Linked DNA regions of Homo sapiens: all the other regions are linked to region 1. Evidence: promoter capture Hi-C in 16 types of primary human blood cells and fetal thymus (Javierre and others, 2016). All regions are on one chromosome and are shown on one strand. The core of a region is centred on a gene start or on the middle of the fragment in contact, and the rest is flanking DNA. Distances in the headings are between cores, read along the strand shown. Region 1 holds the start of ERMP1 (endoplasmic reticulum metallopeptidase 1). Region 2 holds the start of RCL1 (RNA terminal phosphate cyclase like 1). Region 3 holds the start of AK3 (adenylate kinase 3).

Region 1 (4,595 bases), core at 1,906-4,405:
GGCTATGGTTTTCTTCTACGGCAAATTGGCTATGGAATGACCTGTGGGGAAGACAGAAACTGGCAGTTCACCTGAATCCTGACAGCTCATATGTCCTTCCACTTACCTTGGCCAAACTACTAGGAAATACTGAAAAGATGGCAAGACAGAAGGGACATGGGACATCTCTATGTCTGTCAGTCAGTTTAGCTCTTACTTTGTCATAAAGGGAGACACAAGCATAACTGCCTGCCAAGTCAGATGAGTTGACTCAACCCCATGATCAATAGCTCACCAGACGGGGCAGCCACAACCTTTCACATTTATCTGTTCCTCATCCTTATCAGGGATTTGATATGTGAGAACTAGAGCATGTGTTCCAATTCACTGTGGTCTACTTTTAACACAAATAAAATTATAGATCAAACTGGCTTTGAACACTTCAAAGACCAGACATTATCAAAGTGTTTTATAAGCCTATATGTTCTAGATGTGGTCACTGTGCTGCTCTGCCTGGGATGGAGACTGAGTGATCTTATATAACATCACCTAAAGCATGACCTTTCACTGCTCAAAACCACCCCAGAGTCCTCACCAGGGCCAGGAGGCCTTCCTTGCACTGGCTCCTACCCACCTCTGTCACCTCACATCTACCAGGGCTCCTGGCTCAGTCTGCTTTAGTGCATGCCTTATTCGACGTTGCCTCTGAACATCCCAGCTCACTTTCCTCTGCTGGAACATTCTCTCCCCAGGCTTATGTGGCCCTGTTCCTCACTTCATTCAGGTCACCTCAAATGTCATCTTCTCAGAGAGACTGTGAGACCATCTCTGATCACCCTAATAAAACAGCAGCTTTTGTCAGTCTCAATTTCCCTGCTTTATTTTTCTTTATGGCACTTAACTCTCTGACATTTTATACACACACACACATGCGCGCGCGCGTTCATTGTCTCTTTGTTAGAATGTAAGCTCTCTGAAGGTAGAAACATTGATTTGTTCTTCTCTGTTTCTCCACCTTAATCAGTATCTGACACAAGTAGATATCCAACAACTAGTAGCTAAAAATATTCAAACGTGAATACCGTAGACTATACAAGTATAGAGAAAAACTGCCTTTCAGGAACTCAGCTGTAACTTAACTCCTACCACCTAGAGTTCTATGATTATCATGATAGGAAAGTAGCTTTTAATCTAATCTACAAAGGATTTCATGAGAAGGAAAATTCTGAAAAATAGTTTTTAATGAGAATCTTATGTGAGGATCTTTCACACACACACACACACACACACACACACACACACACACACACACACATCTATCTATCCATCTATCATCTGTCTATCTATCTAATCCTCACTGAAGCCCCTTAAGGCAGGTATCATCTGCATTACCACAGATAAATACACGTGGACTCTGTGAGATTGTAACTTGAATAATGCCATGTGTACTAAAGGTACCAGATCCAGGAACTCAGATCTACCCGTCCCCAACAGCCAGGCAGCCAGGCATTTCCCTATTATGGTACCATGGGATATTGTCAGACATACACACACACACACACACACACACACACACACACACACACACATATATACATACATATAGTTATGACCATGGGCTAGGCTCTTATCCAGAGCTAAGCACTATGGATACAGTGATGATTAAATAAGATAGACACTGTCTTTAGTCTCATAGTGCTTACAGACTGAAAGGGATCTTGTAGAGCTAAAATTATGCTTGCTGCCACAAAAGTGGTATGTTTTCATTTTTTCATTCACTCAAGAAATATCTATTGACTACATACTATGTGTCATGCTTTGTGTTAAGAGCAAGGAATAAAATGGTGAGTAAAACCAGACCTGATTCCTGCCTTCGTGGGGCTTACAGTCTAATGAGGAAGTTATGAAATAGTCACATGCAAACATGGTGCTGTGAGATCCTACAAATAGGGGAAGCAAGCTTAATTAAATTAGGAGATTCTTGCTTGAGGAAGTACCACTTAATCTGAGATTTAAAGGATAACTAGGAGTTAAAAAGACAATGAGGAGAGAGAAGAACACTCCAGGTAATTCAAACAGCATGTGAGAAGATCCTATTGTAGAAGGAAAGATGCGTGCAGGAAGTCTTTGAAAGAGGCCAGTGTGGCTGGAGAGCTGGAAATAAGAAGCATCCTGGTGTCAGAGGAGCCTGAGAGGTGGGCAAGAGCAGGACTATAGGGCATTGTATGAAATCTGACATATGTGCTAAGTCAAAATCCGGCAGTGTGCTCTCCCAGTTGGTCTCTAGGTTAATGCTCATGCTAATGTAGCAACTCCAAGCTAGGGACAAAAAACCTTGGAGCAGAGAGGCTCATGGGTACCGGCAAGCTGGAAGAAGACTAGATAATCACTAGGATCTGCACTGAAACCAAGGCTCTGCTGCTTAACCGCCCCAGAGAGTCGTCAAGTGAAGAATGGCCTTTCTGAACCTTCACTTGCAGAGTGCTAATGTAGTAGTGGAACAGAATGCTGTTTTGGGAGCCCATGAAATTAGATTTACATTCTTCATCTGTTATCTCTACGTTTCTCAGGTTATAAAATGGGAACAAAGATATTTCCTTTTAAGTATTGTTAAAGATAATTAAATAAGATGATGTATTAAAGGACTTGACCTAGCGCTTAGCTCATAGCAGGTATTCAATAAATAATAGCCATTATTTTTCTTTATCTGTTAAATGGAGACAGTAATAGCACAGATTAAGTTGCTGAGTTATGAAGATCTGATTAGATTATGCATGTGAAAGCAATAGGCCGGGCCTCCTCTGCGTAATCTTATTTCTAATTTTAAGAGCCAGGAACCCACTTTTTTGGAGCCTGATGTTCTAATATTCCTTCCTTACGAAAGCCAGGTCATTGCTTTTTTCATCTGCCTGATGCACTGTAAGAGCCTTGTGTGTTCTTTCAAAAGCGATCTCTCATTTTTCTCGTTTTGGGTTTTTAGGTGTCTTTACATTTGGCAATCTCCGTCCTACAGAGGGCTGGAAAAGCCCTGCGGGAGACGGCATATCCACCACCCGCTGCTGGGTCGGCCCTGCAGCTGTGTGCACCCGAGAACTGCCAAAGAAGCTGGGTCTTGGCGCGGCGGGACGGGCCAATCAGAAGAAGTTTGGCCCTCTGCAGTTTCCGTCCGCTCACTAGGAGGCGCTGCGGCAGCGACGGCGGCGTCGGCGGCGGCCGGGGCTGTCGCGGGTTGGGGCGGTTGGGCTGGCAGCTGAGGCTCGTGGCCATGGAGTGGGGTTCTGAGTCGGCTGCTGTGAGGCGGCACCGCGTCGGAGTAGAGCGTCGAGAGGGAGCGGCGGCCGCGCCACCGCCGGAGAGGGAGGCCCGAGCGCAGGAGCCTCTGGTGGATGGGTGCAGCGGCGGCGGGAGGACGCGGAAGAGGAGCCCCGGGGGTAGCGGCGGCGCGAGCAGGGGCGCGGGGACCGGGCTGTCTGAGGTGCGCGCCGCGCTGGGGCTCGCGCTCTACCTGATCGCGCTGCGGACGCTGGTGCAGCTCTCGCTGCAGCAGCTCGTGCTACGCGGGGCCGCTGGACACCGCGGGGAGTTCGACGCGCTCCAAGCCAGGTACCGGCCGCTCCCTCCTGGCACGGCCCGCGCGTCCGTTTGCGGCTCCTGCGCAGGCTCCGGGGCACCGCACCTGTGTGCACCCGCCCCTGCCGGACCGCTGGGACTCGCTGACCCCTCCCAGGCTGCACGTGGGGTGGGGTGACCTTGCTTGTCCTTCTTCTGGGGTCTGAATTGCCGGGACTTGGGGCTTGCCTGTCCCCGGTTAAGCTCGTGGTGCAGATTGGGGTTGCCAGGTAGATTGAACCTGCTTTCCACTGTCTGCCCTTCGTGCAGATGGTTGGTTGTGAGTCGTCTCCCCATATTCTGGAACAGCTTCCCCTTTTTACCTTGCTTAGCCCTTCTGCTTTCCAGATGGAAATTTGTGTACCTAGACTGTTGTATAAATTCGCTTTGGGGGCGGGGAGTTTTGGAAGGCGCTAGTGCACTGTTCTAACTTTCTGAGGGTTACAGCCCCCACATCTGAAGGCTATAGAAACTCTTTCTGGAACACCGCCCAGTCAAAATTTGGTATGCAGTCTGATAAATTCTCAGATCCCTGCAGTTTATCTTTAGGCCCCTTGGATTAGTGACTGTGTAAGGTTTGACTTTTTTTTTTTTTTTTAAGACCTTTAAGAATGCTAGGAAAGGTGATTAAGTCAAAGATATTGTAACCCAGGTGTGTCAAAGCTCATGAAGTGTTAAGCTGGCGTCAAGTTTTCAACAGCTACTGTGTTCTAAAAAGTTTTTGCTAGAATGCAAAGTGTTGCAAGCTTATTAAGGACTTTCTGAAACGTCTCCCACCCCCACTTCCAGCTTTCCCCACTTGGAATGCAGTGAAAAGACAAAAACAGTTTTGTTTTCATTAGGGGTACAGTTGGTTTTGGCCTGAATTGAAGTTATTAGACCTTGGGTGTATGCTAGGAGGGCTAGGTCCATCAAAAGTTTCCCCCGCCCGCCTTATTTAACCTCTTGACTTGATTATTTTTGCTCATTGGTTTCTGCTACTTAAAGTCATTAACCCAGAATCTGTA
Region 2 (4,506 bases), core at 120-2,619, 1.0 Mb after region 1:
AACCTATCTCCGTCAATAGCATGGCATCTTCTGCCCTTTATGTGCAGCCAATCACCACCCAAGAGAGGCAGAGATCTAACTATCCAAAAAATGCATTCAGACAGATAAAACAAGAGCCAGTGCAAAATGAAACACATCAGCGCCGCTCAGGAAGCTTCCAGGACCAACCACAAACACTCTTTTTCAATTTACAGACAGGTTTTTTCCTTTTTCACCTGACTACTGACTCGCCCAACTTGGGATAACCACCAGTCAGAAGCTTTTAAATGCATGTATCTCATGCCAGGGGGCCAGGTGTAAACCAAGGCCAGTTGAAAACCGGCGCCATTTAATGAGATGTGGGTTTAAATGGGCCTATTTCTTTTTAACCTACCATTGCAGAGCAAGAAGTGAGCTTGGAAGCCTGCAGTTTAGCGATTGTCACCGACCCCTTTTCTAAAGTCAAGGCAATTAGGCCCATGACTGTTAAAAGTCTATCTCAAAGCTCCTGTCCTGCGCACATCAATCACAGTCACGGCTGAAAACAAACACAGAATTTTAAAAATTTCTTTATCCACACCCAAGGACAAGTGTGAGGGCAGCCGAGAAATCATGGCGACAGGAACAGCCGGTGTCCAAGGGGGCAGCTGCTTCTGAGAACTGCTTTGAGACAGGGCAGAGAACCAACCCAAGGTACTTTTCTCTCCCAATGTCTCTCCCCCGGCTCATTCACCATATTTCGGTCCAACAAACTGTTTTTCTCCTTTGAGAGGTTTATGGCGAGGGCAAGAGGGGCCGAAGGGACGCGAAGGGGCGACGCCAGGGATTTGTTGCTACACGTAAAGCTGGAAAACGTGCAGCTGTTTACTACCAGCGCCCCGGAGACGCCGAGCGCAGCTTGCAGCTGAGCGCTCCCCTCGGGCCCCGACCCCGCCTCCCCCACTGTGCCTGCCCCTCCGGCTTTGGAGGCGACGCGCCACCTGCCCTCCCCGACGCGCTCGCCGGACGCCGAGCCGCCCAACCAACACCGCGCGGGCCCCCACGGCATCAGCTCGGTCTCCCCTCAGCCCCCGCGCCCACGCCGCGCGCCGCCCACACCAAGTTACCTCGGAGGCCCGGGTTGTCGTCTCTGGCCCGAATCTTTCGGATTTTGACGGGGCGCCCGCTCAGGGTAGACAGGACCAGACGTTGGCGCAAGAAGTTGCACCCTGCGTAGCTGAGGGAGTGCGCCTGAGTCGCCATGTGCGCGCTCTCCGAAGAGACGTGAGCAGCCCGAGAGCGGCGACTTCGGACAGACGCGGGACTCGTGACTCCGATGGTGGTGGTGGCGGCGACACCGACGGCGGCGGCTCGGGCTGCCTCCAGCAGCCCAGACGCGTCCACGTGGTTTGGAACAGGAAGACGGAGAGACTAGACACCGGGTCAGAGGGGAGCGGGGCGGAGCCAGTGGCCACCTCCCCGCCTCCCCGCCCGACCGGGGCGGCCCCCGCTTCGGGCCACGCCGCTATTGGCCCGCGCCGGATCAGGGCGGTGCCCGCGCCGCGCCTCCATTGGCTTCCGCTGAAGCTGGGCGGTGCCCAAGCCGCGCTGCCATTGGTCCGTAGTGGAGCTGGGCGGTGCCCGGGCCCTGGCAACAGCGCGCGGCTGGAGGGAACGCGGGAGGATGGCCAGGGAACCCCGGCGCGGGAGTTGCCAGTCGGGGCAGTCTCCTCTGTGTACCTCCTGGCGTGGTAGCAAGGGGAGATGGCGGACTGAGATTGATGCCTACGACGTGCCGGATTCTTAGCATTACTACTTACGGCAACTACTGGGGTGAAGATGCTATTATCTACCCCTCCTCTTTCTTACTAAGAGAGACAACAAGGGTTGGTGCACTCACCCTATCGCAGGGATGCCGCTCAGCGCACTGCCGGCGCAGTCCCGCAGCTCCATGCTGTAACCCTGCAAGGTAGAGCCATCCTGTCCTACTCATGGATAAAGGCTCGAGGAATATTGCAAAGCTGACAGTGGCAGCCTATACTGAGACCCGAATCCTCCCACAGCAGGCCGTTGCTTATTTTATTGAGACACCTCTTTGCCCCTTTCTCACGGGTCCCTTCGTTTATCGTCATTGCGTTTCATGGCAATTCAGGCCCTCCTACCTCGCATGCTTCAAGATAGATAGTTGTAATAACTTCACACACACACACGCGCGCAATGCTTTTTCCCTCTTTCCCGTCCTCCTCCAATCCTGCACAAGAAAATCTTCCCAAACGTTGGATTATTTCACTTCTCTACTCAAAAACCTTCCAAAATGTACAGTTAACTAACAAATGACTACACAAGTAGAAGTCCGATATCATAGTAATGTGGGTTTGTAGCCATTCCTGGACAACACTCACCAAACCATGAGTCCCAGAATGCACGGGGGTTCGCGGGGGGAAGGGGGGCGGGGTATGATAGTGTCTGAAAGCGGTGGGAGTTTAAGATTAAGGGATGTAGCTAGCCTTATGTAGACAACAGTGTGTTATAAAGTGGAGTGGAGTGGCATGCTCATGACTCACTGCAGCCTCAACTTCCCGAGTTCTAGTAATCCTCCAACCTCAGCCTCCCCATTAGCTGGAACTACAGGTGTGCACCACCATGCTCAGCTAATTTTTGTATTTTGTATAGACATGGGTTTTTGCCATGTTACCCAGGCTGGTCTCAAACTTCTAACCTCAAGCGATTGGCCCACCTTGGCCTCACAAGTGTGAGCCACCACTCCCAGCCTTTAATCCATTTTTCTTTGATTTTTGTAAATGGCAAGAGATAGAGATCTAGTTTCACTCTTTTGCATATGGATATCCAATTTTCTCAGCATCATTTATTGAAGAGACTGTCCTTTCCCCAGAGTATGTTCTTGGCAACTTTGTCGAAAATGAGTTTACCGTAGCTGTGTGGATTTATCTCTGCGTTCTCCGCTCTGTTCTACTGATCTATGTGTCTGTTTTTATGCCAGTACCATGCCATTTTGTTTACTCTAGCTCTGTAGTATAATTTGAAGTCAGGTAATGTGATTCCTCCAGTTTTGTTCTTTTTGCTTAGGACAGGTTTGGCTATTCTGGGTCTTTTGTGGTTCCATATAATTTTTTTAATTTTTAATTTTTGTAGGTAGATGGTACATGTATATATGAGGTACGGGAGAAGTTTTGATACAGGCATGCAATGTGTGATAATCACATCCTGAAGGATAGGGTACTCATCCCCTCATGCATTTTATTCTTTGTGTTATTATACAAACAAAACAATTATACTGTTTTAGTTATTTTTAAATGAAAATTAAATTATTGTTGACTACAGACACCTTGTTGTGCTATCAAATAGTAGATCTTATTCTTTCTAATTTTTGTACACATTTATTATCCCCACCTGCCCCCCAACATCCCCACCCCCTCTATGTTTTCCAGTCTCTAGTAACCATCCTTCTACTCTCTATTTCCATGAGTTAAATTGTTTTGATTGTTTGATCCCACAAATAGGTGAGAACATGTGATGTTTTTCTTTCTGTGCCTGGCTTATTTCACTTAACATAATGATCTCCAGTTTCATCCATGTTGTTGCAAATGACAGGATTTCATTCTTTTTTATGGCTGAATAATACTATATTGTGTATATGTATCACATTTTCTTTATCCATTCATCTGTTGATGGACACTTTGACTGTTTTCAAATTTTAGCTATTGTGAAGAGTGCTGCAACAAACATGGGAGTGCAGATATTTCTTTGATATGCTGATTTCCTTTCTTTTGGGTATACACGCAGCAGTGGGATTGCTGAATCATATGGTAGCTCTATTTTTAGTTTTTTGAGGCACCTCCAAACTGTTCTCCATAGTGGTTGCACGAATTTACATTCCCACCAACAGTGTACAAGGGTTCCATTTTCTCCACATCCTCACCAGTATTTGTTATCGCCTGTCTTTTGAATATAAGCCATCTTAACTGGGATGAGATGATATCTCAAAATGAGTAGTTTGCAGATATGTTTTCTCACTCTTTGGGTTGTCTCTTCAGTTTGTTGATTGTTTCCTTTGCTGTGCAGAAGCTTTTTAACTTGATATGATCCCATTTTTGCTTTGGTTGCGTATGCTTGTGGGTTATTAATCAAGAAATTTTTGCCTAACCAATGTCCTAGAGATTTTCCCCAATATTTTCTGTAGCCATTTCATAGTTTGAGGTCTTAGATATAAGTCTTTAATCCATTTTGATTTGGTTTTTGTACACGGCAAGAGAAAGCAGTCTAGTTTTACTCTTCTGCATATGGATATCCAGGTCTCCCAGCACCATTTATTGAAGAGATTGTTTTTTCCCCAGTGTATGTTATTGGCACCTTTATTGAAAATGAGTTCACTGTAGGGTTATAGATTTGTTTTTGGGTTCTCTATTCTGTTCCACTGGTCCATTTGTCTGTTTTTATGCGAGTACCATGCCATTTTGGTTACTATAGTATTTTTTTTTAATTTTTCTTTTTTTTTTTTTTTTTTTTTGAGACAGAGTCTCACTCTGT
Region 3 (2,500 bases), core at 1-2,500, 1.1 Mb after region 1:
ATCAGTTCTGGACCTCTGAGGAGAATGGTAACTGTGTTTTATTTTCAGAGAGCCTTCTTTCTGCCTTAGCATAGTGTCCGGGACAAAGCAATGATGATAAATGGACAACCATTATTGAACATTGACCCCGTAGCTGGCATTGCACTAAGTACTACATTATTTTAACTCCTCCATTCTACTCCTCTATGCCCATTTTACAGGCAAAATGATACTCACTCGAACGTTTTTGTCCTCTGTTTCCATTCTTGAAACATGCCAAACCTCCAGTTTTAGGGCCTTTTCCTAAAACTGGACATAGGAAGGGCCCATGTCTCTCTCTTCCATATTCTAATTAAGCACTCAGCACACATGCCATCTCTTCAAAGCTTTTCCGACCGCCTATCTACAACAGCCTGCCTCCACAGTTTCACACACTCTTTTACGTTATTTATAAAAGAGTCTCACTCAATGGAAGCTGGATTTCCTCTCCTGTAAAATGAGGTAGGCCCTCTCGGCTCAAGGTCACTCCCTGTGATTCTACACAGAGAGGGAGTGGGAAGAGAGGGCGCTCGGCAGCAGAGGAGGAGGAGGAAGGAGGGAAGGGCGAAGGCGGGAGTGGGTGCAGAAGCGGGGGGTCTGGCGGTCCAGGGGGGTAGAAGGGAGGGGCGGATTCGAGTGGGCGCCAGGTGGAGGTGGGGCCAGGGTTGTCAAGGGAGCACGAAAGGGGTCGCGGTGTGTCCGGCAAGGACTGGGTAGGGCAGCGCCTGCTATGGACTAGGGGCGAGGGCTACGAAAGGGTTGTTGGAGGGGTGGATGCGGGTGGATCCCGAAACCAAGCGGCTCCGAGGGGCGACTAGAGGTGGGGAGGGGGCGCGCAGGAGTTGCCAAGGTCGGACAGAGGGGAGCGCGGTCTATCCGGCTGGGAATGGGCCGGACAGGGCGCGGGGTTCCGGGGTCGCGGAGAGGCGCGGAGGTAGATCTGAGCCGAGTGGAGGGCGCGTGGGGGTGGGTGCAGAGGGGCGCCGAAGGGATCCGGGCCCAGCGGCCGGTGGAGAGGGGCCGCGGAGAGGCGCAGGTGGGAGCTGGGCGGCCGAGCGAGCGCAGAGGGGGCGCGGCTTGCGCGGCTTGCGCGGCTGGGCGGGAACAGGCGCTCGGTCGGGGGCGGGGGGTGCGCCGGGGTAGCCGAGAGGCGGACGCAACAGCGGGGTCCCGCGCTGTCTGGGCGGCCCCAGGGGCTGTCGGCTCACTTCCGGGAACGCCGGGGAACCGCAGTAGCCGCCTGCTAGTGGCGCTGCTAGCCGGCCGGCGCAGGCTGCCGAGCGGGTGAGCGCGCAGGCCAGGCCAAAGCCCTGGTACCCGCGCGGTGCGGGCCTCAGTCTGCGGCCATGGGGGCGTCCGCGCGGCTGCTGCGAGCGGTGATCATGGGGGCCCCGGGCTCGGGCAAGGGCACCGTGTCGTCGCGCATCACTACACACTTCGAGCTGAAGCACCTCTCCAGCGGGGACCTGCTCCGGGACAACATGCTGCGGGGCACAGGTGGGAGCTCTGGGCCCAGGGCCGGCCGTGCGCTGTCACCCGGGTCGGACTTCGCGGGCGAGGGGCCGAAGCTGGGCACGCGGGTCCCTGGCTGCGGGCGCGGCATTTCCCTCCCGCCGCCCGGGACAGAGACCTCGGGCTGCTGAGCGACTGCGCCCCAAAACCTCCGGCCTCCGTGGGCCGCTTCGGGCGGGTTATGGGGTGGCGGTGGGGGAAGGGACTGGAAAGTTAGGTCGAGCTCGAAGTTCAGAGATGAAAGGAAACCACCGGGCTTTGTTTCAGAGGCCCAAGTCCTCCCAGTGGCAGCCACTCTTGGGGGTCCATCGAGCTGAGCCGCAGCTTGTTCAACGTGCTGGTGCCTTTGGAAGACTGTCATTAGCCCTGCTAGAGTCTGCTCGTTCTGTTTTGTTTTCTTTGTTTCTTTCTTTTCTCTTTCTTTTTTGGTGTGGTTAAGCTCTATGAGATCTTGTAGTTCTGACCTTTCCCCCATATTCCCAAGGCCAAGTATTATTTACCCTTGTTGCAGTCATAAAATTATCTCATTTTGATATCCTTAGATTTCGTAGACACGAAGGCTATTCTTGTGCATGGTTCTATAAAATATTTTGTTTCTCATGCCAAATAAATTCTTACAGCTCGGCACGAAAGGCAGTTAACAATCTACACTATACAATGGGTGAATTTGTGGTATGTAAATTCTCTCTTAAGAGGGTTGTTTTTGAAAAGCCAATCGCAGGAGTTTTTTTCTCAAAAAATGTTGACCTTACTTTTCAAAATAGAACCCGTTTTGAAACTCATTTTGAAACCCATTTACATAGAAATAATGCTTCCACAAGGCCTTTTTCTTTTGTTTTCCTTCTTTTTTTTTTTTTTTTTGTAAGGATAGCAAACAGGATAGACGTGCATAGCATAAAAAACAACGCCCTCTTTCGTTCCCTACCTCAGTCCCATTCTTCGGAGGGGAACAGAGTTTTCCTTCTAGAAA

What was found. Contacts are between HindIII fragments. The CHiCAGO score rates a contact against its expected background, and 5 or more counts as called.
Region 2: a contact is called between the fragment with the promoter of RCL1 here and the fragment with the promoter of ERMP1 in region 1, in 4 of 17 cell types (naive B cells, total B cells, monocytes and 1 more). The highest score is 8.3, in naive B cells.
Region 3: the fragment with the promoter of AK3 here is called in contact with the fragment with the promoter of ERMP1 in region 1 in 1 of 17 cell types (monocytes); the score reaches 5.6 in monocytes.

The regions. Positions count from the first base shown.
Region 1 is chr9:5,831,677-5,836,271 of GRCh38, reverse strand. ERMP1 (endoplasmic reticulum metallopeptidase 1) reads left to right here and starts at 3,155. Exons shown (of 15, transcript NM_024896.3): 1 at 3,155-3,582. The coding sequence starts at 3,245. RefSeq lists silencers at 3,069-3,288, 3,369-3,588. The HindIII fragment of the contact is 2,395 bases long and covers 1,942-4,336 here.
Region 2 is chr9:4,789,807-4,794,312 of GRCh38, reverse strand. It overlaps RCL1 (RNA terminal phosphate cyclase like 1), which reads right to left and starts at 1,369. Exons shown (of 9, transcript NM_005772.5): 1 at 1,086-1,369. The coding sequence starts at 1,221. RefSeq lists enhancers at 619-1,118, 1,193-1,242, 2,063-2,112 and a silencer at 1,323-1,682. The HindIII fragment of the contact is 3,785 bases long and covers 262-4,046 here.
Region 3 is chr9:4,739,952-4,742,451 of GRCh38, reverse strand. It overlaps AK3 (adenylate kinase 3), which reads left to right and starts at 1,250. Exons shown (of 5, transcript NM_016282.4): 1 at 1,250-1,515. The coding sequence starts at 1,365. RefSeq lists silencers at 861-1,350, 1,581-1,720. The HindIII fragment of the contact is 10,519 bases long and covers 368-2,500 here.